3 separate regions of the Homo sapiens genome follow, and regions 1 and 3 are each linked to region 2. The links are contacts of gene promoters, found by promoter capture Hi-C in blood cells and fetal thymus (Javierre and others, 2016). All regions are on one chromosome and are shown on one strand. The core of a region is centred on a gene start or on the middle of the fragment in contact, and the rest is flanking DNA. Distances in the headings are between cores, read along the strand shown.

Evidence for each region. The method cuts DNA at HindIII sites, captures the fragments that hold promoters and counts their contacts. A CHiCAGO score of 5 or more calls a contact.
Region 1: a fragment that was not itself captured here is called in contact with the fragment with the promoter of SERPINB8 in region 2 in 1 of 17 cell types (monocytes); the score reaches 5.2 in monocytes.
Region 3: a fragment that was not itself captured here is called in contact with the fragment with the promoter of SERPINB8 in region 2 in 1 of 17 cell types (non-activated CD4 T cells); the score reaches 5.0 in non-activated CD4 T cells.

Annotation. Positions count from the first base shown.
Region 1 is chr18:63,447,366-63,451,548 of GRCh38, forward strand. No RefSeq gene overlaps it. Among named protein-coding and RNA genes, the nearest start is that of VPS4B, 27 kb to the left of the region's middle. The HindIII fragment of the contact is 4,924 bases long and covers 1-4,183 here.
Region 2 is chr18:63,968,519-63,973,133 of GRCh38, forward strand. SERPINB8 (serpin family B member 8) reads left to right here and starts at 1,563. Exons shown (of 7, transcript NM_002640.4): 1 at 1,563-1,652. LOC105372165 (a long non-coding RNA gene) reads right to left here and starts at 1,986. Exons shown (of 3, transcript XR_935576.3): 1 at 805-1,986. It also overlaps a transcript of HMSD not described here. RefSeq lists enhancers at 1,395-1,444, 1,475-1,644, 1,937-2,231 and silencers at 1,705-1,904, 1,915-1,974, 2,045-2,264. The HindIII fragment of the contact is 1,474 bases long and covers 594-2,067 here.
Region 3 is chr18:63,158,564-63,163,144 of GRCh38, forward strand. All of the region lies in intron 2 of BCL2 (BCL2 apoptosis regulator), which reads right to left. Among named protein-coding and RNA genes, the nearest start is that of BCL2, 160 kb to the right of the region's middle. RefSeq lists enhancers at 153-202, 2,268-2,387, 2,798-3,037, 3,128-3,417, 3,618-3,667 and 2 more. The HindIII fragment of the contact is 5,416 bases long and covers 97-4,581 here.

The DNA.
Region 1 (4,183 bases), core at 588-3,087, 520 kb before region 2:
GGGTAATGGAGGCTACAGCAACTGTATCTTGGATACTAATCTCCCAAGATGACTTCTGATTAACCCAAGTTCTGGGAATACCTCTAAGATTTCTAATCTCTCATAGTTACTGTAAATCCGGCCCTTAGGTCAAAACAACCTTTATGTTATCATAAACACATACTTACCATAAATCCTTCCCTTAGGCAAATGCCCTATGGTATATAAGCCCTGGGTCTGGAAGGTATCAGGGTGGGATCCACCATCTCAGGGCTGCATGGAACATGGCTTCTGTTCCTAAGCCCCTATGACATGTTTCTTTCTGAGAAACTGGATTTATCAGCCTCTTTCTGTGGCCTCTCAGCTTCCTTGGTCTTTGGGGCTTCATAGAGCTTCTCACTGCAGAACAGGTGTTAAGATTATGTACATTTTGACTGGGCGCAGTGGCTCACGCCTGTAATACCAGCACTTTGGGAGGCCGAGGCGGGGGGATCGTGAGGTCAGGAGATGGAGACCATCCTGGCTAACTCGGTGAAACACCGTCTCTACTAAAATACAAAAAATTAGCCGGGCGTGGTGGCGGGCGCCTGTAGTCCCAGCTACTTGGGAGGCTGAGGCAGGAGAATGGCGTGAACCCGGGAGGCGGAGCTTGCAGTGAGCTGAGATCGCGCCACTGCACTCCAGCCTGGGTGACAGAGCGAGACTCTGTCTCCAAAAAAAAAAAAAAAAAAAAAAAAAGATAATGCACTTTTAGCATCATGATGTGGGGACCAGGGGCATCTCCTTTACCTTTACGTTCAAATATATTCTAGAATGTGCACCTCTTACACATCCTGGGCCTGCTCTAAACAAGCTAGATATGCCGCTTATTGGAGTTGCTTCACTGTATTTCTTCTTAACTTCTAAATTTTGAGATAATTAAAGGTTCACAGGAAATTGCAAAGATAGTACGGAGGGCCTCCATTCACTCAGTTTCCCCCAATGGTTACATCTTGTTTATTTATTTATTGGAGATGGAGTCTTACTCTGTAGCCCAGACTGGAGTACAGTGGCACAATATCAGCTCACTGCAAACTCTGCCTCCTGGGTTCAAATGATTCCCCTGCCTCAGCCTCCCGAGTAGCTGGGATTATAGGTGTCCGCCACCACACCCGGCTAATTTTTGTATTTTTAGTTGAGATGGGGTTTGCTAGGCTGGTCTTGAACTCCTGACCTCAGGTGATCCACCCACCTTGGCTTCCCAAAGTGCTGGGATTACGGGTGTGAGCCACTGCGCCTGGCCAGAAACAATTCCTTTAATGAGGTAGTGGGAGAGAAGAGGGGAGTGGGAAATGGTTTTCATGACTCAGTAAGGAATCACTTGAGAGAGCAGCCATGGAACAAACGAGTTAAAGAGGACCACTTCTTAGTGATGGGGACCACCTAACCTGGAGAAGGTTACTGGACTCCTCTGAATTTCAGTTTTCTCATCTGTAAAAATATCATAACAATGTCTAGCTTCACAGTGTTATAAATCCGTACTTCCATATATTAAAGAAAAATAAAAGTAGTGGCTGGGTGAAGTGGCTTACACCTGTAATCCCAGCACTTTGGGAGGCTGAGGTGGACGAAGTGCTTGAGCCCAGGAGTTCGAGACCAGCCTGAGCAACATGGCAAAACCTCACTTCTACAAAAAAATACAAACATTAGGCGGGCATAGTGGTGTGCACCTGTGGTCCCAGCTACTCGGGAGGCTGAGGTGAGAGGATCACCTGAGTCTGGGGAGATCAAGGCTGCAGTGAGCCAAGATAGCAGCACCACACTCCAGCCTGGGAGACAGAGCAGGACCCTGTCTCAAATAAATAAATAAATGAATAAATAAATAAATTAGGCAATTAGTATACATTCTAATTGCCTGGGGAAGTTGTCAAAAATGAAGATTTTGGCTGGGCACAGTGGCTCATGCCTTTAATTTCAGCACTTTGGGAGGCCGAGGTGAGAAGATCATGAGGTCAGGAGATTGAGACCATCCTGGCCAACATGGTGAAACCCCGTCTCTACTAAAAATACAAAAATTAGCTGGGTGTGGTGGCGTGTGGCTGTAATCCCAGCTACTAGGGAGGCTGAGGCACGAGAATCGCTTTAACAAAGGAGGCAGAGGCTGCAGTGAGCCGAGATTGTGCCACTGCCCTCCAGCCTGGCCACAGAGCAGGACCCCATCTCAAAAACACCCAAGGAAAAAAGAAAAAAAAGATTTTAAGGCTCCTTCCAGAAATTCTGACTCAGTCAGCATAGGGTGAGGCTCTGCCCTGGAATCCTCATTCTGTAATCAACCCTGGTGATTCTGTTGAAATTGATTTCTAGATTTCAATTTGAGAATTCTTCTGTCCATTGATTCTGAAACCTGGTTGTGATTTATAATTGCCTGGGAACTTTATTTTATTTTATTTAAAATTTTTTTTTTTTTATTGAGCATTCTTGGGTGTTTCTCGCAGAGGGGGATTTGGCAGGGTCACAGGACAATAATGGAGGGAAGGTCAGCAGATAAACAAGTGAACAAAGGTCTCTGGTTTTCCTAGGCAGAGGACCCTGCGGCCTTCTGCAGTGTTTGTGTCCCTGGGTACTTGAGATTAGGGAGTGGTGATGACTCTTAAGCAGCATGCTGCCTTCAAGCATCTGTTTAACAAAGCACATCTTGCACTGCCCTTACTCCATTTAACCCCGAGTGGACACAGCACATGTTTCAGAGAGCACAGGGTTGGGGGTAAGGTCACAGATCAACAGGATCCCAAGGCAGAAGAATTTTTCTTAGTACAGAACAAAATGAAAAGTCTCCCATGTCTACCTCTTTCTACACAGACACGGCAACCATCCGATTTCTCAATCTTTTCCCCACCTTTCCCCCCTTTCTATTCCACAAAACCGCCATTGTCATCATGGCCCGTTCTCAATGAGCTATTGGGTACACCTCCCAAACGGGGTGGTGGCCAGGCAGAGGGGCTCCTCACTTCCCAGTAGGGGCGGCCGGGCAGAGGCGCCCCTCACCTCCCGGACGGGGCGGCTGGCCGGGCTCGGGGCTGACCCCCACCACCTCCCTCCCGGACGGGGCGGCTGGCCGGGCAGAGGGGCTCCTCACTTCCCAGTAGGGGCGGCCGGGCAGAGGCGCCCCTCACATCCCGGACGGGGCGGCTGGCCGGGCGGGGGGCTGACCCCCCCACCTCCCTCCCGGACGGGGAGCGGCTGGCCGGGCAGAGGGGCTCCTCACTTCGCCTGGGAACCTTAAAAAAATAATGACGCCTGGGCCCCACCACAGATCAATTACACCAGAATTTCTGGGGGTAGAGCTTGGAAACTGTATTCGTTAAATACTCCCAGGTGATTCTAACATGAAGCCAGGGAAGGGAGGATCCTAGCTAGACGACCAAATGTCTAGGGCGATATTGGCATTCAGTTGCATGCATGGGAAGAGTGGTGTTTACTCATGATTTAAGATCGTTATTTAAACCTTACAACAATTCTATGACATTGGTATGATTATCTCTACCTTTTGATTTAAAAAACCCAAGGCTTAGAAAAGTTGCATTATTAATTTGAGCACTGAAACCATCATTGGATTCTGGAGTTAAAGGCCTTTTCTATATATCTTGCTGCCTCCTTCCACTAAGAGAAAAACAAATTTAATTTAGTTTTAGAATTGAAATCAACTGATTATCAAAATGCCTTAATAAGAAATTGCCCCCATTGAAATCTGTTTTTAAGCATTGTGTTATAAACTTAGGTAGGTCACGTGCGTGTAACCTGAGGAATGATCGATGAACTGGACACAACCTTGTCAATGGGTAAAAACAGTGTTGCTGATTTATATGGAATTTTGCTTATGTGGAAAGAAAGTGAAGTCAGGTCGGGAGCAGTGGCTCACACCTGTAATCCCAGAACTTTGGGAGGCTGAGGCGGGGAGATCACTTGAGGTCAGGAGTTCGAGACCAGCCTGGCCAACATGGCAATACCTCGTCTCTACTAAAAATACAAAAATTAGCTGGGCATGGTGGCACGCGCCTGTAATCCCATCTACTCAGGAGGCTGAGGCGTGACTTGCTTGAACCTGGGAGGCAGAGATTGCAGTGAGCTGAGATCCCACTGCTGCACTCCAGCCCAGGTGACAAAGTGAGACTCCATCTCAAAAAAATAGAAAGTGAAATCAATTTGTTGCTGGTGGCAAATCCAC
Region 2 (4,615 bases), core at 313-2,812:
GTTTCCTACATGGGATATCTGTGTTTACAACCAAACTCCCAGGGGCCAAATTATATCCTTTGTAAAGGACTTCAAACCACCAGGCATTTGCTGGAAGTTTCACGGAGGAAAACAAGCATTTTTCATCTTTTAATCTGTTTTGCTGGTCAAAGAGGAAAAGGAGTGGATGGACAAAGTGGGGCCCAAAGTCTGGATCTAGTTCTGACCAACAAGGAGAAATTGATGCACAATGGGGAAGTGACCTTGGCATTTTCAACTGGCAGAGCCGGTAAGTTTGGGCACAGTTCAAATGTGAGTCTGTAGCCACTAGAGAGAGGGGTTTCAAAGTCATGGAGAAAAGATGGGGGTGAATCCTGCACCAAGACTTATTGAGGAGAGTTCTTGGGAACAGTTACTTTTAGGATTCCACAGGGAAATCACTGAGCGAGTTTTACAAAATACTGCTGCTGGGTTCCCTCCTCCAAGAGATCTTTACTTAATTGGTTTGGGGTGCAGAGTGGGAATGTGCATCTTTAAAAGCAGAATTCCCAAACTGGAGAGCTCTGTGAGAGCTTCCTGCAGGAGACATTATTTGAACTGAATTTTGAAAGACAAGCTTGCATGCCAGGAACCCCATGTATATGAACAGAGGATATGAAGGAATGTAAATAATTTGCTATGGCTCTAAAGAAAAGAAGGGAGAAATCAAGACGTGAAGAGGCTTACACTCCTTGCTCAATAGTTTCTAATTTATCTTTTTGGATAAGAGGATGTTATAAAGGATTTTAAACTGAGGTATAAAATAATTAGAATTGGAATGTTTACCTGAACTTCAGAGTAGGCAATAGGTTGGCATGGATCAGAACTGTAGGTAGGAAAATTAATTGTTTAGGAGAGACATGAGACATGATAGAGGTGACAGAGTATGGACAGGAGGAACACAAAAGTGATAGAAGTAACAGGACTGTTGATCATTTAGTTAAAAGAACTGCGGAGGGACACACCCAGGTTTCTGAGAGATGTCCAGTAGTACACAGGTAACATCTACGGCTCGAGACAGGTTAGAGATTTTGAAGAAATAAGTTAAAAGTTGAAACATGAACCTATGGATATAGTGGAGGTCATACAAGAAGATCATATTATAATGAAAAGAAGAGGGCTTAGAATGGTAGGAAAGGAATCAGGATACCAAGCAAAGGAGTCAGGAAAGAAGGGAAGGGTGCTCTGGAAATCCTGGGAAGGTCAAAGAAGAAAGGGCTAAATGTCGCCAACAAACAAAATGAAATAAGACCTGGGATGTATTTTTTGGCCAAGGCAATTAGAAAATGATTAGTATCCTTATCAGGAGCAATTTCAGAGAATGTTTGGGTGGACGTCTAACTACAGTGGAGTCAAACGTGAATCAACGGTGAAAAAAGGACAATAGCCAATGTGTACACTTTTTATAAAAACCACCCTCCAAGGACCAGGCACTGGCCCTCTCTCCGGTGCCCACAGACATCCACACAGGCCCAAAGAATCAGGGATTGCACAAGCCAGAGCAATCGAACGGTTCTGAGTCATCTGCCGGAAGCCTTGCCCTCAATCAAGGCGGACGTGAAGCATCTACAAAGGAGGAATAGTCAAAGCAGCAGCGGCGGCGGCGGCGGCGGCAGCAGCAGCAGCAGCAGGAGGTGGGGGCCTCTGCCAGGTACCGGGCGGGGCAGGCACGGAGGTGCCCAGGTTCCCGCGGAGGCCACCTCTTCCCTGGAGTGCGTGAGAGAGGGGAAGGGAGGAAGGCCAGAGCAGGAATCAGAGCGAGGCAAAGGCGGGCAGGAACTAGGAGAATGACGGCGGGAGGCGGCCGGGAAAGAGAGTCGCGGGGCTGTGGGGGTCGCCCTGGCACCAGCCGGGGTCCCAAGCCCCACCGCGAGACCCGGCGAAGGCCGAGGGCCGGGTCCCGAGAACAGGTGCGCCCAGACCCGCCCTGAATAGGAAGCTGCCCCTGGAGAGGGAGCGTCTGTTTCTAGGCTTGCGATTTGCTGCGCTGTGATTTGCTGCCGGATGGGAGCGGGGGGTGACGCGAGCAGTGAGTTTGGAAGCGCCGGAAGCTTGGGCGGGAGCCCCGGGAGGGCGAGTGGGAGGAGCCGCCGCTGCGGAGGAGGCTCCGGGAGTGCGGGTGGCGGGGCCTGGAATTTCCGTGGCGCCTGGGGCAGATCGGGGAGGCGCCGAGTCCCTGCTCCCCTGGCGCCCAAGCTTGCCCCTGTGCTTACAGCCTATTGGTTGCACCTTCTCCTTCCCTTCCTGTCCCCCCCCTCCGTTCTTTCCACCCCTGCCTTCATCTTTCTGTATCTTTCATATTCTCTTCTTCATTGTCTGCTTCCTCTCAAATGGGATGGGGTTGGGGGTGCTTCTTCACCTACGCCCCTCTCTGTTGCAGCCACCGGCGTTACTTTAACCAATTCCTCACTTTCCAGACACTCTCAGTCCTCTGGCTGCTGCTTCACTCCTGAGACCTCTCCATTCCAAAGGGCCTCACCCAGGGCTGCTCTCCGGGCCCCTCCCGCTTCCCTGCCTCGGGCTCTGCGTAGACCGCGCCCTCTTCCCTGGGTCCACTCGCAGGGGCAGACTCGTCTCCCCAGTTCTCCCAGCACACCCTGATGGCTGGGTCTCAGTCTCCGTTTCGCGCGCGCGCTCTCCCCTCGCCCTCCTCTGTCTCTTCCTTTTACTACCTCCAGATATTGGAAATTCCACAGAAATAGGTGGATTTCTTCCCTTGTGCCTCCACTAGATGTTCTGTGTAGTTTCATCCATTCTCATGGAACCTCTCGGAATCGGGATGCTGATGGCTCCAGGTCTCTGGCTCTAGACAGTCTACTCATCCCCGTCCCTAACTGTTTACAAACATCCTTGGCTGTCTTTGTTACAGGTTCACCTGGTATGGTGTGTTCCACGCATCTCAAATGGAACAAGTCATATTCCCCATTCCAGCCTGACTCCTCATTTAAAATTCCAGTGGTTCACGACCCACCCTGAGTATGAATTTATAACAGCTAGGCGCCTCGGGACTGGGCCCTCCTGTGCTCTGTCCCTATGTGAGCAGTCACTGCCTGGCAATTCCAGCCCCCACTTCTCTATTGCAGACAATCCCTCTGCTTTCAGCAGTCCCTGGCCCATGGTGGTGGCCTACGCGCCAGCTCCCCAGCCTCTTTTCATACCAAATACTGAGCCGGGTTATCTTTCTAAAGCCCCAATGCACTCATATGAGACGTTTGTTTAAAAACCATGCATGGCTTTCCAGACCATAATCTCAAGTTCAAACTCCTAAATGTGGCATAAGGGTCCGTCCTATCTCACTACCACGTGGCTCACAGGAAACCATAGAAACCCACCCCAGGGGCACCACACAAACCATGCCCTTTGTCTTCCTGCCACATTCTTGGCACCTGCTAATTCCTCAGCCTATTATTTGCATCCCCCATTTCACCACCTACGGAATGCCTGCCCGGCTTTTCTTTTTTCTTTTTTTTTTTGATATGTGGTTTTAATAAGTTTCATTACCTATTGAATAAATACAAAAGAACATTTAAAATGTGTATTGAATTATAAAGAACAGCAGTACAACCCATCACCCAGTTTAATAACTGGAATATTGTCATCGCTGGAGGCCGTGTTTCCCTACTGATCACACCCTCCTCCCTCATCACATCCGCTTCCCTCCCCTCTGTATCACCACCTTCCTGAGTTTCATGATAATAACGACATAGTTTTACTGTCTACACATGCATCCAGAATGATTTAGTTTAGCCTGGTTTTGAACTTTACGTATATGGAATAATACTGTATTACTCTGTGGCTTAATCCTTTAATACATTATTTGTGGGAATTGTCCATGTCAAAAACTAAAGAACTTATAGATATGGTTCTTTCAGTTTTTATTGTTCTGTATTCCATTATACTAATATACTACAATCCATTTATCCATTCTGTTTTTGATGGACATTTGGGTTGTTTCTTTTTTATTATTATACTTTAAGCTCTAGGGTAAAAGTGCACAATATGCAAGTTTGATACATAGGTATACATGAGCCATGTTGGTTTGCCGCACCCATCAACTAGTCATTTACATTAGGTATTTCTCCTAATGCTATTCCTCTCACATCCCCCCCGCCCACCCCACAGGCCCCGGTGTGTGATTTTCCCCACCCTATGTCCAAGTGTTTTCATTGTTCAGTTCCCACCTATGAGTGAGAACATGTGGTGTTTGGGTTTCTGTCTTTGTGGTAGTTTGCTGAGAATGATGGTTTCCAGCTTCATCCATGTCCCTACAAAGGACATGAACTCATCGTTTTTTTATGGCTGCATAGTATTCCATGGTGTATATATGCCACATTTTCTTAATCCAGTCTATCATTGATGGACATTTGGGTTGGTTCCAAGTCTTTGCTATTGTGAATAGTGCCGCAATAAACATACATGTGCATGTGTCTTTGTAGTAGCATGATTTATAATCCTTTGGGTGTATACCCAGTAATGGGGTGGCTGGGTCAAATGGTATTTCTAGTTCTAGATCCTTGAGGAATCGCCACACTGTCTTCCATAATGGTTGAACTAGTTTACAGTCCTACCAAGAGTTTAAAAGTGTTCCTTTTTCTCC
Region 3 (4,581 bases), core at 1,555-4,054, 810 kb before region 2:
CCTGTTTAGGCAGTGGACACAAGCCTGTTCCAACCCCAGAATCCAAGGTCTAAGTCATCTTCAATAAGGTATTGCCTGAAACCATGTGGGATAAAAAGCTTCTTCCTTTAAAATAACCTTCAATGAAGCCAGGCCATTACTGGAACTTATCATATATAATGACACACAAAATGCCAAGAGAAATTTATAGCGCCGCCTGTCTGCCCACCATTTAGGCACTGGTGAGTCATTAATTCATGAGAGATTTATCAGTTTATAAAAGATGCTAGATAAGTTAATTTTTAAAAATCATGTGAGTATAGATTTATGCTCAGGTTATCTACTTTAAAAAAAGGATCTCTCTTGGGCTGTTTTTCCAAAGCAGTGCAATTCACGTTAACCCCCCATCCCACTGCCTCCAGCCCATGCCCTAGAGAGCTGCTGAAGGACACTGGAGTCTGACTAGAGGCAGGGCTGGGCCCACTGAGTGTCACCAAAATCACAAAAACACAACTGAAAGAGAACTGTTCTTAAATACTCATGTACCATAAAAGGGGAATTTCCAGAGGTCTCTGATATTAGCAATTTGCCCTTCCATTCCCTTCCTCTCTAGTTTCAAGATGAGATGATGACAAAAAGACTGACTAGTGAGAAAAAGCATGAAACTCCATCTACAAACGTGCAAACCGACACAGAGCAAACCTGCAGGAATTTCCACACCCGGTCTTCTGATTTGCCTTGAAAAGGGGGAAAAAGAGAGAAAGGAAGCGTACCTTCGCCTCCACTAAGACATCAACATTAACTCTGTTTTCTTAATTTCACACGAACATCACTGCGTCTGGAGTCTATGTTTTATTTTTCCTGTTAGGCAAAAGCAATTTTTCCCAAGTAAAAGTTCTGAAACGGATTTCTTTTAGAAGCAGAGATAACTGGGAATTTTCTCAAAACTAGTACAAGTATGAATGTTTCTCCTTTTACTTTCCATTTTTACAAATGCATTTAGGGCCAAATGCACTGGCTAATTTTGATAGAATGTAACAGAGACAGGAGAAGCAGTCCATCTCAGTGAGTGAGTGGACATTTATTAGGCATTCACTTTTCACAGGCCTGGGATATTAGGTATTGCGGGGGTGTTGTATTCAGGAAATAGAAGTCAAAATCCAATTGAGTAGGGAAATGAGCCAAACAGAAATGGACACAAAGACACCAAAAACACCTACAAAAACACAGATGAATGTGCAGAATCAGCTGGAGTTTCTATGAGCTGAGCTGAATCTGCTCACCTTGCAAAGATTTCCCCGCACAGTGGGGACTGCCCACGCGTACGCATTTCTTAGTTTCTGCTGGCCAACTCGAATCGTTTTCAGCGGGGTCATTTACATCGTGTCCACTTTTTCTGGTTTCCAAACTCAACCCACTTTATTATCTTAAGAGTTTTCATTCTCAGTATCATTTACATACAACAAAATGAATATATCATGTGTACAGTTTTATGAATATTGACAAAGGCATACATCCCTTTAACTCACTCCCCTATCAAGATATGCAGCATTTCCATCCTCCCAGAAAGAGCCCTTGGAGCCACTTTGTTTTTAAATTATTTGCATCTGAATATTTTTGAGTGGAGATTATCAAAGCCAAATGTGTGGGAAGAAAGCCTAATCATTAATCATCTACTACAAATACAGGTAGTAAAGGTTTTGAAGATGGTGCGTGAGCCTGCACAGACAAGTCTGCGGGATTGGGTCCTGTTATGAAATGCCAAAGGGGCTTTTTAGCGACAGGCACGTGGGCCCCTCTCAGCCGCCCTGTCGGCACTCAGATACGCAACTAAGACCGAGTGGGTTTCTTTTCTGGTTTTGTTCTTTAGGCATCAGAGTTTACATGTTTAGAAAGAGGGAAGTTGAGGCTGAATAGTCACATCCACCATATTCTCATAGGGGCAAATGTTCTCTGATTAGGAGGGCTCAACCACAGTGCAGAGTCCCCTCTTCCAAAATTCTGTTTCAACACCGAGAGGAGTTCACATGACCAGGCAAATTAGAGATTTTCTTAGCATTTCCTGTTTCCCAGATTTCAGAGGAGCCCTTCAGGGAATGTCTGGCCCAGGGTAGCACATTCAGGATGAGGGAAAAATGGTTATTTTTAGGTCCCTCCAACCATCACATTCCTCCCTGTCTCCACTTGGGCACTCTGTTGTTCTAGTGACCTGTCAAAGGGATGGGGGCGGGGCTGCGAGAAAAAAGCCACATCGCTTCCTTTGGGGTGGGGGTAAGGGTACCCCTGCTCCAGGGGTCCTAAACTGCTCACTAGCCCTTCTGCTGGAGAGGGACCAGAGGTGGAAGACCTGCCAGAGTGAGTGCCAGGCAGCTCTAGACTTCTGGGTATTCATTTCTCATAAAAGGTTGCAGTATTTCCTGGACACCTGAATTCTATGTCTTCACGGCAAAAACAATTCAAAATGTCCCAAAACATTATGCAGGAAGGAGTTTTTAATTTTTTTTAAATCACTTTTCCAAAATGGTACCCTGAGGTGATCCTGTCTTCAATCTCCCAGCAATGAAAACAATGTGGTTGAAAAGTTGACAGCTTTCAACCCTTGAAAAGGTCACCTCCCTGCCTCACACCCTCTCGTAAGTATTAAGAGCATAACGGATATTTTGAGTCACATGTATTGTTCTTTGTTCATTTGCATTTGGTGAAATCCCCCCCTTGGACCAATTTAGTAAGCAGTGCCTTGGGCTTCCTTGGTGATTGTTCTCTTGTCTTCTGTATATTTTTTCCTGTGAAAAAAATTTAGACTCAGCCAGTGAAATGAAGTTGCAGCCTCTGTCACTGATGCTTTCTTTTTGCTCAGATGATCTTTCCATCTCGCTTGGGACAGAATTCCTTCTTCTTTGCAACGAATGAAGACCTTCGAGGCTCAGCTGAGGCCCTTGTACTCCAAGACTTTCTGAAAGCTCCCTCGCCCCTCCCCATCTGACCTTCTGTTGGACTGACATACTTCTCCATATTTCAGCCTCAGATGGCTTGGTGTTCACCACTAGACTGTGTTACTGAAAGTTAATCAAGGGTCCTAGGGCCATTTACAAAGTGGGACTGTAAGAGAAAGTCTAGCTAGATGGAAATGTATCCTAAATACCCCCAAGTCCCAGCACAGGGGTTCCCATCAACAAAAAGCCTCACCTCCAAATACATTGCTGAGGACGCAGGGCCCCGTCTTCCCACCTGACGCACTACACACCACGTCAGCTGTCACAGGAGGTCTGAGTGCTTTATGAAGCTGCCTGCTTTCTCTCTTACCTCCATGTGTAAGCCAACCACTCTGGCTTTCAGAAACATATTTCTTTCTCTATGAGTAATTTAAAAGTGACTCATCCTCAGCCTCACCAGCCGGTCCATGTGACCTGCAGTGCTGGTTGAGTGTTATCTATAGATGTGTAAACCAAAGCAGTTCTTAGAACACAGATTCCCCCTCCCACGTGCTGTTGATTTCCCTTTGCTACACAGGGAGGGAACGATGTCAGACATGAGCAGCCAGGGACTGCCCGCTCCGCACTCAAATCTGGAATGTGTCCATTAGAGGAAACAAAGGCCATCACCCAGTGACAGAAAAGAAGAGACAGGCAAAAGGCCTAATATATTTATTTTAGTATTAGCAGACCATCAAGAAGCTCTGAGAAAACTCCACAAAAATTGAAGACGATGATGACCCATATAAACAAAAAACTGCTCAAAGTTCTTTTTCTGAGCCAGTAGAAATTTAGACCTCATGAAACAGAGATGACACCCACACCCACCCCAACCAAAACCCCACCAACACGTCTTCATTGCTCAATCAGAAACACATTCCTGGGATCTGCTGTGGTTTGTCTTGGGAACTCACATATATGAACATGTTTTTATTTCTTCAACTTGCCTTTATTCCACCATCACCAAAGAATGGTGTCAGGCCCAGCTCGGGGACACTACTGGTGCAGGCAGGCACGCGGGTGACACAGCTGGCCAGCATTCTAGATCGTGTTTCTTACCTCTTTCTCACTTCCTATTTTCTATTAAACCAAATCTGAACTCATTTGCCTGCTTTGTGAAGACCTTCATAATCCAGCTACTGTCGCCTGATTTTCTAGCACCATCTATGCTCTTGGCACAATTAATCCTTGGCTACCACTAGGGCAGCATCCTCACTGCTCCTCCAAGGAAGACACCAGAGCCTTCATTTCCATGCCTTCACCCTCCCAAACCCCCAAACTCTGCCCTCCTTCCTTCTTTCCTTCCCTCCTTCCTTCCTTCTTTCCATCCCTCCTTCCTTCCCTCCTTCCTTCCTTTAAATTGAGAAACTTTTGCTCTGTCACTCAGGCTGGAGTGCAGTCGCAATTATAGCTCACTGCAGCCTTGAATTCCCAGGATCAAGTGATCCTCTTGCCTCAACCTCCTGAGTAGCTGGGACTATAGGCATGTGCCACTATGTCTGGCTAGTTTTTGTAGAGATGGGGTCTGGCTATGTTGCCAAGGTTGGTCTTGAACTCCTCGGTTCAAGTCATTGGTCCACCTCGGCCTCCCAAAGTGCTGGGATTACAGGTGTGAGTCACCATGGCTGGC